3 separate regions of the Homo sapiens genome follow, and regions 2 and 3 are each linked to region 1. Evidence: promoter capture Hi-C in 16 types of primary human blood cells and fetal thymus (Javierre and others, 2016). All regions are on one chromosome and are shown on one strand. Each heading gives the region's core, a stretch centred on a gene start or on the middle of the fragment in contact. The rest is flanking DNA. Distances are from core to core; before and after follow the strand shown. Region 1 holds the start of METTL14 (methyltransferase 14, N6-adenosine-methyltransferase non-catalytic subunit). Region 2 has its middle 14 kb from the start of SEC24D. Region 3 holds the start of SYNPO2 (synaptopodin 2).

Region 1 (4,529 bases), core at 1,266-3,765:
CCACCTAACGATTTTTTGACTTACAATGGATTTATTGGGACATAGCCCCATCATAAGTTGGGGAGCATCATGAGTTGTAGAGTATAGGTTTGGAGGAGTCAGTCTCCAGGAGCTTGGGGAGAGATGCATAAGTTATAATGTGGATCTCTCTTTACTTCCTTAAATTAAGTGCCTAGAAGTAAATTGCTTCTTCAAAAAGTATGGATTTTATGTGAGGACTTCCGAAATTTCTTCCCCCTCTTCCTGCCACACACACCCCCTAGTGGCCTTTATGTTGTCATAATGAACAGATGTTACTGATGGGCTTGTAAAATTCTCTACAAGTATGCTGATGTGGTCTGGTGTTTTAAAATTCATTAGTTGGGAGAGAGATTTCAAAATTATATCCCCTTCTTTGTACAAACTGCAACAACCCTCTGCCCAACTCCAACAGTTTTGTAAATATTACATGGAAGTACATATCTGCATCAGTACAGTTCCAGGCAGGAAAACAAATAATTAAAAGTATTTTAAACAGACGCCATTCACTATGGAGAAATAGTTAAGCAGATATTGAAGGCTAGAAGAGCAAAAAGGGAGAAGTAAGATTAAATCAGAAATTTTAAACTGCAGGATGGCTACCAGTCCTTGAGCTGGTGGAACAGAAGGTAGAAGTAGTAGTATCATAGCACAAGAGCAAACTCACTCACTGTTAAGGGTGTCACTTTCTTAAGGTAAGGAAAGGAGGGGCTGCTCCAACTGGCTCTAGACTTTGTAAGGGACATAGTCATCGCTCTAGATGCCAGAAGCAGAGAGTAAAATAAATGGACAATAGCTTTCCCATGTTCCACCTTTTGATTTCCTGCCTGTGCCTCCTGTGGGCAGAGTCTTACAGGAAGCCATCTAACAAGGAAGGCTGGGAAATGTAGTTTGTGGACTCCCTGCCTAGCCATCATCTCGAAGCAGAGGGTAGGTGAGTATGGGGTTCAAAGATTACAAGCAAGTAACCTGCATAGCAACTTATCAGGAAAAAGAAAAATCCTCCATTAGACAGTAAACTCATAAAGAAAAACCGACTTTAGTTTTTAATCTTTGACAGACTTTATAGACTCTAGGGCCTATCACAGTGCTTGCCATATAAAATGCTCAATCAATATCAACAGATATTTAAGTGAATAATTGCCTATTCTCACCATTGGTAAAATTTAAATCAGTATTCAACTTAAATGATTGCCAGATAATACAACTGATTTTTAAAGAAATACACTTTAACTCATATGGACATAAATATTTTACAGTATCCAAGTAGTGCTGACATTACTCAAGGAATTGTTTAGGACTACTTGTTCAAAATTGTCTTTCAGACCTAGTTCTTCGGAAATACATTATAATTATTTCTATAAAAGTGGGCATGACTAAGTAGAATCTAGTCTTGCCCACTTTTGGCCCAGCCTGACTCAACTGGTTTTGATCTGGATGACTTAATATTATTTCTGAAAATTAAATCTACTCTGAAAGAACAGACTTATTACTAATTTTGTTAAGTACTTACCGCGATTTCCAATTAAACTTGAGGCAACATGATGTCTTACTCCACTTCCGCCACTGTAGGCTTGAAATAAGATGGCAAGTGTGGTGAATAATAATGGTAATAACTCAAATAAGACTTTGGCCTTTGCTGCCATCCTATGAAGACAGAATCACCACCCCCCAGCCCTCACCCCTCACCCCCGCAATCCGAGTAATTTCAGGAAGCTATTTGTTTCCTTATCCTTGGGTTATTTTCAGTTAAGACAAATGTACAAGCACAAAAAGGAGTCTCTTAGCTTCTGACTCCTAGGACATAAACCAAGACACGCTTTACTATCACATACTCATTTCCCTAAAGGGAAGAAGCCAAAAAATGCATACTATAGTAAAATGGGAAACATTTCAAGGGACAGTAAGGTGTGGGGAAGAGTGGGCAGATGTTGTGGCTGTTACCTGCGTGAAGGTAAATAAAATATTAACAATAACAAGCACTTCTACACCGCTATGTGCAAGGTGCTATTTATCCTTTCAATCACAGCTCTGTGAGGTAGACACTTATGACTCCCATTTTACAGATGACAAAACTGAGGCTCACGAAGGTGGTTAACTAGCCAAGGCCACTCGTCTAGGAAGTGAGAGGCCAAGGTTCAATCCTAGGCAATCTGGCTTAAGTTTGTGTTCTGTTAAAAAAAAAAAAATTAAAGGTTATCTGGCAATTTTTTAAACGTCAGGACTGTCATCTGTGGAATCAATTGAAAAGGGAATCAACACTTCAGAAACTGTAATACACCAAGGGAACCTGCTATCCTGGGAAAGAGAGATAAAGGAGAAGTCAGCTGACTGTCCTCCTTCAGACTAGCTCAGACCACCCCAACCTGCGAGGGCCCTGGAGACCCCTGTGGCGCAACAGATCCCTTACTGGGTCCCTTCCAAGTGGCGTCACATAGCAAGCGTCCAGAAGGAGGCGGGACTTCCGGGCCAAGCGAGCCAATTCCGGCCGCGCCGGAAGTCTCTACTGAGGAAAGCTATGAGGATACTCTGTTCGTAAGCTCCCGGTGAATTTTGTTCCACAGACTCGGAAGAAAGGTTGGATAAGAGTTCACTGGAGATTGACAAGTACTCGGGATAGTGAAAAGCCGGAGTTGGAACATGGATAGCCGCTTGCAGGAGATCCGGGAGCGGCAGAAGTTACGGCGACAGCTCCTCGCGCAGCAGGTCCGCGGCCCTGGTGTCCCCTGTGGGAGGGATCGAGAATGCGAGTGCGCGGCCGCCTCCTCCCTCCACACCCCGCCTTTTTCTGTCCCTTCTCTACCTGCCGCTGTTAAGGCCTTTCTGGTCCTGCGATCTTGATCCCTGGTTCTGCCTTTGTAGTTCTCAATTTTCGCGGTGTCCCGAATGTTTTTCCAGTTCCTTCCGCGGTCTTTGTGGTGCTAAACCGAATGCCAGGATTAGCCTTTAAGCTTTGTGGAACTCCCACCGAGTGTCTGGCATGTTCACGCCAGGATGAGTGTCATGTTATCCCCTACATTTCTCTTCACTATTAAATGGTCATCTATTTCTTTCTTTTCTTCGTCGTCAGCCCCAAATTCTTGAGATTGTGGTTTCATTATGAAATACGTTTACAGTATTTTCTTTGACATCTTTCTGAAGACAACACTGGAAGTAGCCTGAGTGTAAATTTTAGATTCTGCATCTTATATAGAGTATCCTTGTCACATCCACAGTTAATATTTGAAATCTTACTCTGTGTTAGTCACAATAATCTCCTGAAACAGGTATTATTACCTTCACTTATCAAGTAATGAAAAAGGCTCCATACGTTAAGGAATTTTACTCCTGGTCGCTCACTTCTCTGCTGGGAAATAGAACCTAGGTTTGTCTCCCCAAAGCTTGTCTTCTAAACCATTGTCCTTCACTTCTTTCTTGTGTATGAGTAAGTTAACATTTGCTGATTAGTAGAGTGCACATGCAGAAAATACAGATTGTGCACAGTTCTACTTAAAATCGAGGCTGTATTTTCCATTCTACTATTCAGATCAGTAAAAGTGATAGGAGCAATGCTCATAGAGTGTAATTAGTCATCTTGCAGTTATTTTTCAGTAATGAAACTTGGTTTTAGTAAATGGACTTCTGAAACCTATCCTCTTTATGGTCTGATGAACAGATTTGTGGAATATGGCTAAAACCGTGGAAACTTGGAGTCAGATTTGTTCCTTTGTTCCTTATCCCGCTGGCATTACGATCTTGGGCAAATCAAGTATCCTTTCTAAGTCTTCTTTTCGCCAACTTCTTTTATCGTATTATCTTCAAAAATGTTAAGTAGCTCTTTGTTGCTACCACAGAAGACGTTTTACTCCTTAATATTGAATTCAAACTTCTATTTGACTCAATATACATTCATAGGACAATTATTTGTTTAGTGTTTTACACTCAGCAGATGCCAGGGGCTCTACCTTTTAAAGTCTTTTATGAATTGGTTGCACTCTACTTAGCCAGCCTTATAACCATTATTTGTTTACATTTGTTTGTATTTTGCAAAATTTTCCAAACTGCCAAACAAAATTTATGTTACCATTTTAAGGTAGTAAAGTTCAGCCTTGTGTCTATAAATAGTAAGACTTAGCTTGAGTAAAACTGGATCGATTTTTATTAGAGCATAGAATAAATAAGTTATATAAGCTGATGCCTACAAAATGTTTAACATGGTACCCACAACCCTGTGCAAACACTGTCTTATCTGCCTTTTTTAGTTATTGCTATTGCAGGTTGAATATCTCTTATCTGAAATGCTTGGGCCAGAAGTGTTTTGGATTTCAGATTTTTTTCAGGATTTGGAATATTTGCATATTACTTACTGGTTGAGCATGCCAAATACCAAAACTCAAAATCGGAATGCTTCAGTGACCATTTCCTTTGAATGTCATGTCAGTACTCAAAAAGTTCCAGATTTTGGAGCGTTTTGGATTTTGGATTTTCAGATTTGGAATGCTCATTTTATATTAAATCGTGTGTATTGCTTC
Region 2 (4,427 bases), core at 699-3,198, 160 kb after region 1:
ACTGCAGCCTCTACCACCTGGGCTCAAGCAGTCCTCACACCTCAGCCTCCCAAGTAGCTGGGACCACAGGTGCGCAACACCACGCCCAGCTAATTTTTAAAAATTTTCTGTAGAGCTGGGGTCTCGCCATGTTACCCAGGCTTGTCTCAAACTCCTGGGCTCAAGTGATCTCCCACCACTGTCTCCCGGAGTGTTGGGATTACAGGCGTGAACCACTGTACGTGGCCCAAATTTGCCTTGAACAAGTTATCTCTGGCTCTGTGTTTAGGCAACACCTATTGATGTGATCTCTAGGCACCTTACTAAGAATATTGTGCCAGCATTCTGCCTTTAAGACCAGGAAAACAGAGCACAATGAGGATTTAAGTATGAGAACAACCTCCTTGCTTATATCACTTATTATAAATCTTTTATTTGACAAAATTCTTCTTATAGATTATTTTTAGTACTAGAATTAGAAAACCTAATGAAGTTTAGATCACTACGAGTTCATATGCAATGTCATGTGTAGATAAATTAATTGAAGGTGCTTTATAAACTAAGAATATCCCATTTTTTCTAAAACACCCTTTTCATAAAACACACTTCCAAGTTTCTATACTTTTCACTGAAAACTGCAAGGGCTCACTGATTATGGGGATTTGAGCCAATCATGAAGTAAGTCTCTGGCAGGCTTATCTGTAACTAACACTGATATCACTTGAATTCAGGGGATGGCAAATAGGGCCATGATGTTGGTCTTAAGAATTTTAATCCTTTTTCAAAAGAACTGTGAATGACCAGCTATGTTAAAATAAAAGACTAGAAAGTTGGCTCTGGGGAAAGAAACCTCACAAAACAACATCCCTGTTAAAGAAATGTCAAATCTCTTAAAAAAAAAAAAACAACTAAATTTGCATAATATTCAAGGAATTCTAGCAATATTAAATAATTTGTGAAACAAGTTTTTAAAGGGCATAATACATGCTTTGTATACTGGACTTGTGTTTTATAAACCCTAACTCTTTGTTTGCCAGGTTATATGTTGGAATGTAAGAAGAAATACCAAATTTGGTACTTTCTGTGAGACATTTGGGTTTTCTTTGCTCTTTATTTAACATAATGTGAGTCTACATAAAATGCCTCATACCGTAGTATTTTGTGCTTGGAAGGAGAATTCATCTTCTCTGGGTGTAGAGAGGAGAAGTGGATTAAAATAGTATTAGAAATAGATTTCAAATGCAAATACAGGCACTCCTTGACTTAAGATGGGGCTATGTCATGATAAATCCATTGTAAGTTGAAAATATCATAAGTCAAAAATGCATTTAAGACAACTAATCTATCAAACATAGCTTAGCCTAATTTACCTTAAATGTGCTCAGAACACTTGTATTAGCCTAAAGTTGGGCAAAATCATCTAGCAGCACAGTACACTGTATATTACAGGGTGTTTAACCTCAAGATCATTTGGCTAACTGGGAGCTGCAACTTACTGCCACTGCCCAACATCCTGCAAGAGAGTAGCATTACACTGTGTATCGCACTCTGGGAAAAAATCAAAATTCAAAATTCAAAGTATGATTTTTATTAACTGTATCACTTTTGTGGAATCTTCCTAAATTGAGGACATTTTGTAATCATTTTCAAGATGTTTGTATTAAAATAAGTTAAATATACTGTTTAACCCAAAGTGAAGAGATGGGTTCTTAGAGAAAACATCTTGAGAACAATCCGGAAAGTGATTGTTATTCTTTGTTGGTAGAGCAGGAAAGGGCATTCCTGGAAGAGAAAGCACCTAAACAAGAGCATAGAAATGTAAAGCAACCTGGAGATCTAGGGGGAACTGCAAGCTTTTTGATATGGCAGGAGCAAGGAACATGTTTGTCATGGCTGAGGAGGGGCCCCACCAAGCAACAGTATGAAGATGTAATCAAGGGCCAGATAATGAATGGCAGTTTAAGTACCATTGAGGTGTTAGTGATTTATCCTGGAGGGAGGCATCAAAAGGTTTCAAAACAGGAAAACAGCATGATCTGTTGCTTTTGTACTATTGGTTTTGGCAGCAATGTAGAGGATGGAATGGAAGCTTGTGAGACTAGGGCAAAAAGAACTAAGAAAACAGCACGATAATATAGAAAAAAAAACAAGGAACAGTGTTAATAGAGGGCCATCCAATTGAATGTATGAGGTGGAGGAAGGTGAGAATGGAAACTAAGGTGATGTGCTGGGTGGGGAGGGGCCAAGAAAGAGGATACAGGAAGAGAGTGCTTTGCAGGAAAACGTTTGTTTCACTTTCAATTTGTTGCCTTCAAAATATTCAGAACATGTTGCTCTGGAGCTCAGGAGAGAAGGTGAAGTAAAGATCTGAATTCGGCAACTCGGAAGCGAAGCTCCAATCTTGAGGATGGATCAGATTGGTGAGGGAGACTGTCATATAGAGTGAGAAGAGAGATCCAAGGACAGAACTGCAGGAAGCATCAATATTTGAGGAATGAGAAAGGAAGAAAAGCCTCCCACAAAAGAGATGAGACAAGAGGAATGGTTACACAGGTAGGAAGAGAAGCAGAGATGAATGGTGTCCTCTTTATATTTCAATCACCTGAACTCATTACTCATTATTGCCTGCGAATATCAGGTGCTTCACTGTTTCTCAGCTTTTACTCATACCTTTCATCTTTTCAAAAGGAGTTTTAAAATCCTACTCACTTTTCAGAGTCTTAGTGGAATACCAGGTCTTTCGTCAGAACTTTCCTGACTGTTATCACGATCTTTCTTCCTCACATTGTCCTAGTAACCCCAGCATCATGAAATTGAATACAATTACATTATTTAAGACAGTCTTTCAACAACTTTTTGGTCTCAGGAACCCTTGACATTCTTAAAAATGATTGAGGATTGACCAGTCTGACCAACACGGAGAAACCCCGTCTCTACTAAAAATACAAAATTAGCCTGGCGTGGTGGTGCATGCCTATAATCCCAGCTACTTGGGAGGCTGAGGCAGGAGAATCGCTTGAACCTGGGAGGCAGAGGTTGCGGTGAGCCGAGATTGCACCATTGCACTCCAGCCTGGGCAACAAGAGCAAAACTCCATCTCAAAAAAAAACAAAAAACAAAAACGAAGATTGAGGATCCCAAAGAGTTTTGTGCTTTTGCTTATATAAGATATAGCTATCGATATTATGGAATAAAACAATTAAAACTCATTGTTACAATATTTATTAACTTATTTAAAATAGCAATAATGTCATTGCATGTCAATGTAAGTAACATTTTGATTAAAAATACTGTATTTTTTAAAACAGAAAAATGTAGTGAGAATAGTGGCATTATTTTACATTTTTTCAAATCTCTTTAATGTCTTGCTTAATAGAACACAGCTGGATTATCATAACCACCTCTATATTCAATCTATTGTGATGTACCATTTTGGTGGAAGTATGGAAAAAAAATCCACTCTCATACAGGGATGTAGTTGGTGGGGGAAAGGGCATATTTTAATAGTCTTTTCAGAAAACTGTGGATATTCTTTGATACCACACCAAAACTCAGCAAGAGTTTTTTTTTTCCCTAGAGGTTAATTGCAATGTGGAATCTGAAACCATAGCAAGAAAGTTTTCTAACTGTTATATTAAAATTCATTGGTCTATCATACAATTTGGTGAATTTGAATGATTTTGCAACATCACACATTTGTCACTTAGAAAATATTGATTTGCCGTATAAAAAAAGCTCAATATCACGGACCATTAGGGAAATGCAAATCAAAACCACAATGAGCTGCCATCTCACACTAGTCAGAATGGCTGTTGTTAAAGAGAAAAAATAACAGATCCTGGAGAGATTGTGGAGAAAAAGGAACGTTTATACATTGTCTGTGGGAGTGTAAATTAGTTCAACCATTGTGGAAGACAGTGTGGTGATTCCTCAAAGACCTAAAGACAGAAATACCACTTGACCCAGCAATCTCATTACTGAGTATATATACAAAGGAATATAAATCATTCTATCATAAAGAAACACGCACACGTATGTTCATTACAGCAGTATTCGCAATAGCAAAGACATAGAATCAACCTAAATGCCCATCAGTGACAGATTGGATAAAGAAAATGTGGTACATATACACCATGGAATACTATTGCAGCCATAAAAAAAGAACAGTATCATGTCTTTTGCAGGGACATGGATGAATCTGGAGGCCATTATCCTCAGCAAACTAACACAGGAACAGAAAACCAAATACCACATGTTCTTATAAGTGGGAGCTAAATGATGAGAACACATGGACACATAGAGGGGAACAACACACACTGGGGCCTATTGGAGGCTGGAGGGTGGGAGGAGGGAGAGAATCAGGAAAAATAACTAATGGGTACTAGGCTTAATACCGGAGTGACAAAATAATCTGTACAACAAACCCCATTACACAAGTTTACCTATAT
Region 3 (4,853 bases), core at 914-3,413, 210 kb after region 1:
TCTCAAAACATTTATTTGAGAGAATCTAATCCTCTAGTAGTTGAATTCCCAACGCTCCTATTTTAGGACGTCATTCATGGCGTGGAGATTAAACCTTCATGTGTCCTTTACTATTTACAGAATTATTAAATGTAAGTTTTTCAATCATACTTATACCATTAACTGCTTGGATTTAATCTGTTAGTGCAAGATAACTTTGGCTCTCCCTTCCGTCCTCCTTTCCCTTATCTCGCCCCACGTGAGGACATTCTCCTGTGTGTGAAGCTGCTTTCCTTTCCTCGAAGGTGGGCCGAGCAAAGGAGAGTGACGCAAGAGTGGGCTGTGTCCTGGATGCTGCGAGCGCCTCTGCCTCCTTGAGAATGAGCCCATTAGCCGCACAAATTCGCAGCAGGCGGCTGGGGCGGCGGCTGGGGCAGCGGCTGCAGCAGCGGCGGACGCTCTGCATTACCCAGTCTTGCGTCCTCGGCAGGCGCCCGAAGCTGAGTGCGCATCCTCTACCGCACCCAAGCTTCGTCTGTCTCGTCAAGCTCTTCATGCTGCCCAACTAAAAGGAAAACATGGGCACAGGGGATTTTATCTGCATTTCCATGACTGGAGGGGCGCCCTGGGGGTTCAGATTGCAAGGTGGCAAGGAGCAGAAGCAGCCCTTACAAGTTGCAAAGGTAGGACCTGAACGAAGTGTCACGGCTCTGTGCTAGGAAGGAAGGAATGAAAGCAACCTGCTGATGGTGTTTTCAGGTTCTGATGCAGAAGTCTAAGTATTATTTGATTTTGCTGCGGATATTAAGATTTTTCTAGGAAGTGAGTTATTTTCTAAGAAACTTTGGAGAGTAATGGGCCACATCCTATGTAATTAACTTGCAATCGATGAGGGGTGGGTGGGAAGAATGCCATATTTATCAGCTGAGGAAAAGGCCTAGTTAACCATGTTCTTCTGACAACAAGCAAGACACTGGGGAGCGTTTCTTCCAGGCAATTTTAGAATGTTCAGTTGAGTTATTGTTTGATGTCACTTCACTTGGCTCTGGCAGAGGAGAAACGCTCAGTTCAGCATAACGACTTTGCTTGGCTATTTTGGGGACTCATATAGAGTGTTGGTAGTGACATTTATTATGCAGCATTCATGAAAAGGCCAATGTTGGGCAATAATTTTAAAAGTATGATGAAGTGTCATAAAATCTATTTAAAAGAATACCCTTTTAAGGATTTGACAAATAAATGCAAAAATCCAATAAATGCTGTATTCCTTCTTATGTACTCTTTTGGTCAAGATCTCAAAAATAAACTTAGAAGATAATCTAAATATATTATGAGTAACTAAGAGGTAACTTTGTAACACATTAATAACTATTTAAAATGCTTTAAGTTTTTATTGCCATTAGATTGCCTGCATTACTGGTTAGCCCAAGGGGATCTGGTATTCTCTAATTGGCATTCAGCTAAAATAAAACTTAAAATGCACAAAACTAAGCAAACTTTTACCTAACCTTATCATCAAATTGCAAATTATAGTATTGTATTGAAGAACATGCAAGAGCATGGGATTAATTTCCTATTTTATGCTTATATTAAAAATGGGTACAGATCTTTATGAAATACATGGGCCATTGCCTTTGTAGTTATTGTTTGTTTCCCTCTGGCTTTTACTCTTTTTTTTTTGTAGTTATTGTTTCCCTCTGCCTTTTACGTTTTTTTTTTTTTAGTGTCCTTTGCGAAGAAAGAAGTTTCTTTGAAACTCCTTTTTGCTTCCAGGCATCATATGTAAATCCTTTCGTAATGTGATGGTGGAATCCTGCCACCTAGTGAAAATTGCAAACATCAAGAATGAACCATAAAACAGTAGATGAAAAGCAGAGTTTTTATTACTGGAAAGTTCCTCCGAGGTCTGCAGTTCAACCCATGAATTTTAGATGAGGAAAGAGCCCAGAGATGTTAAGTAACTTGCCTTAAGTTTTCAGCTTGGAACTGGCAGAGTGATTAAAGGCTCAGAAAGGTGGTTTTGTTGGGTTCCTTTAGGAGTCAATAGCAGGCAACCTCAGATAAAATATGAATGCCCAATTTAGCATATGTAGAATTCATGACACTGAAGCAGATTTGTCCTGAGTCTAGAATAGCAGTTGGCTGGCTCTAGGTATGAGATTTGGGTTCTAATTCCAGCTCTGATCTAACTTGCAGCCTGGCCTTAGGAAAATCTCTCACCCTTCCTGTCTCATCGGTTTCTCTCTCTCTCTCTCTCTCTCTCTCTCTCTCTCTCTGTGTGTGTGTGTGTGTGTGTGTAGGGAGAGAGAGACAAATATTTTAACTTAGGTGGTAAAGAAGTAAGAAAGAAATTGGACTGTGCAGTCTACGAAGCTCTGTCTTGCCCAAGTATTCTACGATCCTGATAGTGTACAGTTTTAGAATCGCTTGCCTACTAATTGAAATATGGGGACAGAGTGGCTGAGTGCTGTTGTTCTCTGGTGGCTCTTTGGCAGCCAGGCCTCAAGAATAGAGTGGGTAGTGGGTTTCTTCTGAGTTCTGCATGTGACGATTTCAATGTGGGACCTCTTTGCGGCGATTCACTGAAGAGCTGAAGCAGATTGCTAGGAAAGGGTGCTGTGGAGATTCTCTGCTAATGGCATCTCTATTTTCAGGATTCAGTAAGGTTGTTAGGCTATGTCAGAATCCAGTCCTACACTCCCCCTAAATCATCCTTCCTAAAATACCCAGCAATACATTTGTGGTTTTCAAAAGATCATTATTAAGGCATCTAGATGTTTGCTTTGCTTTTGTAGTTTGTGATACTATACTTAGAGCTATAGATTTTAAAATATCATTATAAAAGTATCTGGAAGTTTGCCTTAATTTTTGTGTGTTTGTGTGTGCAAGAGAGAGAGAGAGACAGACTGTAGTCTACAGTCTACCTTTTGTCCATACGTTAAAAAGACTAAAGAGCTATCTATAGAAGATGTAAGTTCTAAATTACTGTGGCAATGCACAATTTTTGTTGGTCTTTTTCTTTTTTTAGTTCAAATGATTATGTTTGATTTCTTATACTAGCATTATTTGTGGGAGAAATCCCTTGGAACAAAGCGCTTATCACTTTCTCTGTTATCAAGGCCATTGCCTCATTAGGATCACTGTATTTTATTTAAAATATTAAGTCAATTCAATTCTATTCATGGTATCTCAATGTGTTCAAGGCAAAGTGAATGTTGCTTGGGCATAAACTTTCTCTTCTTGTAAGGACTGGTGATAGCTTATTAGGGCTGGATGCAAGGAAAGAGACAGAAAGGCTAGAGAGATGGTTGCTGTCAAATCAAATGTTCACAGTTTTGAATAACATGCACAAAATTAATTTGGGAGTTGAAGGAAAACTTAAATTTTCAAAGAAAAGAAAATTTCGGCGAGTGCTTGAACCATGCTCCTTAAAATGGGAATGCTACAAAGCAGTTCTGTAGACAATAACACATTTTGGCTTTTTGTGAAATATCTACATATTTAGGTTTTTCATAATTCTATATAGAGTAAAAATCTAACAGGCAGAAATAGTGCAAAAAAACAGTCTAATGTTATTAAGAACAATAAAAAATTGAATAACTTTATAATTCCCGATAAATATCCTTATATTGACATATTTAGTCACTTCTGAGATATGTTCAAACATGTTTAGTATTTGGTTAGCTGGTTGAACTATACGCAAACCCCAAATTTTAAAGATAAATAACAGGAATATTCATTATCAAAACTTGTCATTGACGGTTAAGCTCAATGGCACGAAAATCTGTTTTGTTTTAAAAAATAAACCAAATTTTTAAAAGCCCAAGTAATCAGTAACATAAGCTTGTTTTTAAAATGTTTGTATATCTTTTAATTTATATTCTAAATATATGTGATGGGAGGCAAACATTTCTAACACTGAGTTATAGCATAACACTCTGCAAAGTATATTTTCAAGAGATTATAAACAGAAACAAATTTATCCAAACAGAAAACCCCACTGTGTGTGCAGATAGCTTTACAAAAAGAATGTGAGCACTTCTTCTTTATGAAACTCTCTCTTTTGGGACATGTACTTATCTGGCCCTGTCTCAGGACATACTTTTGGCAAATCACTTTGAAAAATCCTCATATAAAGGAGTGGGGAGAAATTTTTGTTTTACAAAAAATCTTACCTGCAATTGAAAAATTACTCACATTTTGAAAATAATTAAGAAAAAAATGTTCAGACTGTTTATCCTTTATATGTTTTAATATAGTTAGAAATTTATTTTTTCTTCAAATCTTATGCACCACTATAGTATGTGTTCTACTGAATTTAGTTCAAAGTTTCAAATAATTGTTCATTAAAATTGAGGTGACATTGTATAATCCTTCATTTCATAAGGCCAAAATGAATTTAATAATTCTTATCTATTATTGGATATGTGTTCTTTAAGATTTTGAATAAAAATGTATTATTTACACAAAGCACATTTCAGATAATATAATTCTTATCCCTTAGTGCCATCAGTAAGGTTTTTAAAATGTTTCAAATAGAAGAATTCCAGAAACATAGGTATTTCTAAAGGGGGAAAAAGATTTTAATGTGTTTGAATATGTATACTTGAGAATAAATGCTCCTTCCTATATATGAAAACTGGTAATATCTTTATTAAAATATGCTTAATCACTTAATCTTTAAATTGATTTTAAGCCCTTTCTAGGAATTTTAAACACAGACATGCTTATAGAAGTTAGTGTGCTCTAGATAAATCTATTAAGTAGGCGATATTAAAAAATCCTTATTTTGGAATTGTATATTTTAAGGGAGGTTTCTGAAAGATGACAATGAGATAAAATATTCATTATGCATGAACTTTGCCATTAGCTGG

The links. The method cuts DNA at HindIII sites, captures the fragments that hold promoters and counts their contacts. A CHiCAGO score of 5 or more calls a contact.
Region 2: a contact is called between a fragment that was not itself captured here and the fragment with the promoter of METTL14 in region 1, in 3 of 17 cell types (fetal thymus, total CD8 T cells and total B cells). The highest score is 7.5, in fetal thymus.
Region 3: a contact is called between a fragment that was not itself captured here and the fragment with the promoter of METTL14 in region 1, in 3 of 17 cell types (endothelial precursors, megakaryocytes and M0 macrophages). The highest score is 5.5, in endothelial precursors.

What each region holds. Positions count from the first base shown.
Region 1 is chr4:118,682,877-118,687,405 of GRCh38, forward strand. METTL14 (methyltransferase 14, N6-adenosine-methyltransferase non-catalytic subunit) reads left to right here and starts at 2,516. Exons shown (of 11, transcript NM_020961.4): 1 at 2,516-2,724. The coding sequence starts at 2,659. METTL14-DT (METTL14 divergent transcript) reads right to left here and starts at 2,465. Exons shown (of 7, transcript NR_125930.1): 1 at 2,429-2,465; 2 at 1,532-1,591. RefSeq lists enhancers at 2,475-2,734, 2,915-3,054. The HindIII fragment of the contact is 9,570 bases long and covers 1-2,967 here.
Region 2 is chr4:118,848,409-118,852,835 of GRCh38, forward strand. It overlaps a transcript of SYNPO2 not described here. Among named protein-coding and RNA genes, the nearest start is that of SEC24D, 14 kb to the left of the region's middle. RefSeq lists an enhancer at 2,196-2,265. The HindIII fragment of the contact is 236 bases long and covers 1,831-2,066 here.
Region 3 is chr4:118,888,480-118,893,332 of GRCh38, forward strand. It overlaps SYNPO2 (synaptopodin 2), which reads left to right and starts at 375. Exons shown (of 5, transcript NM_133477.3): 1 at 375-662. The coding sequence starts at 558. The HindIII fragment of the contact is 3,314 bases long and covers 507-3,820 here.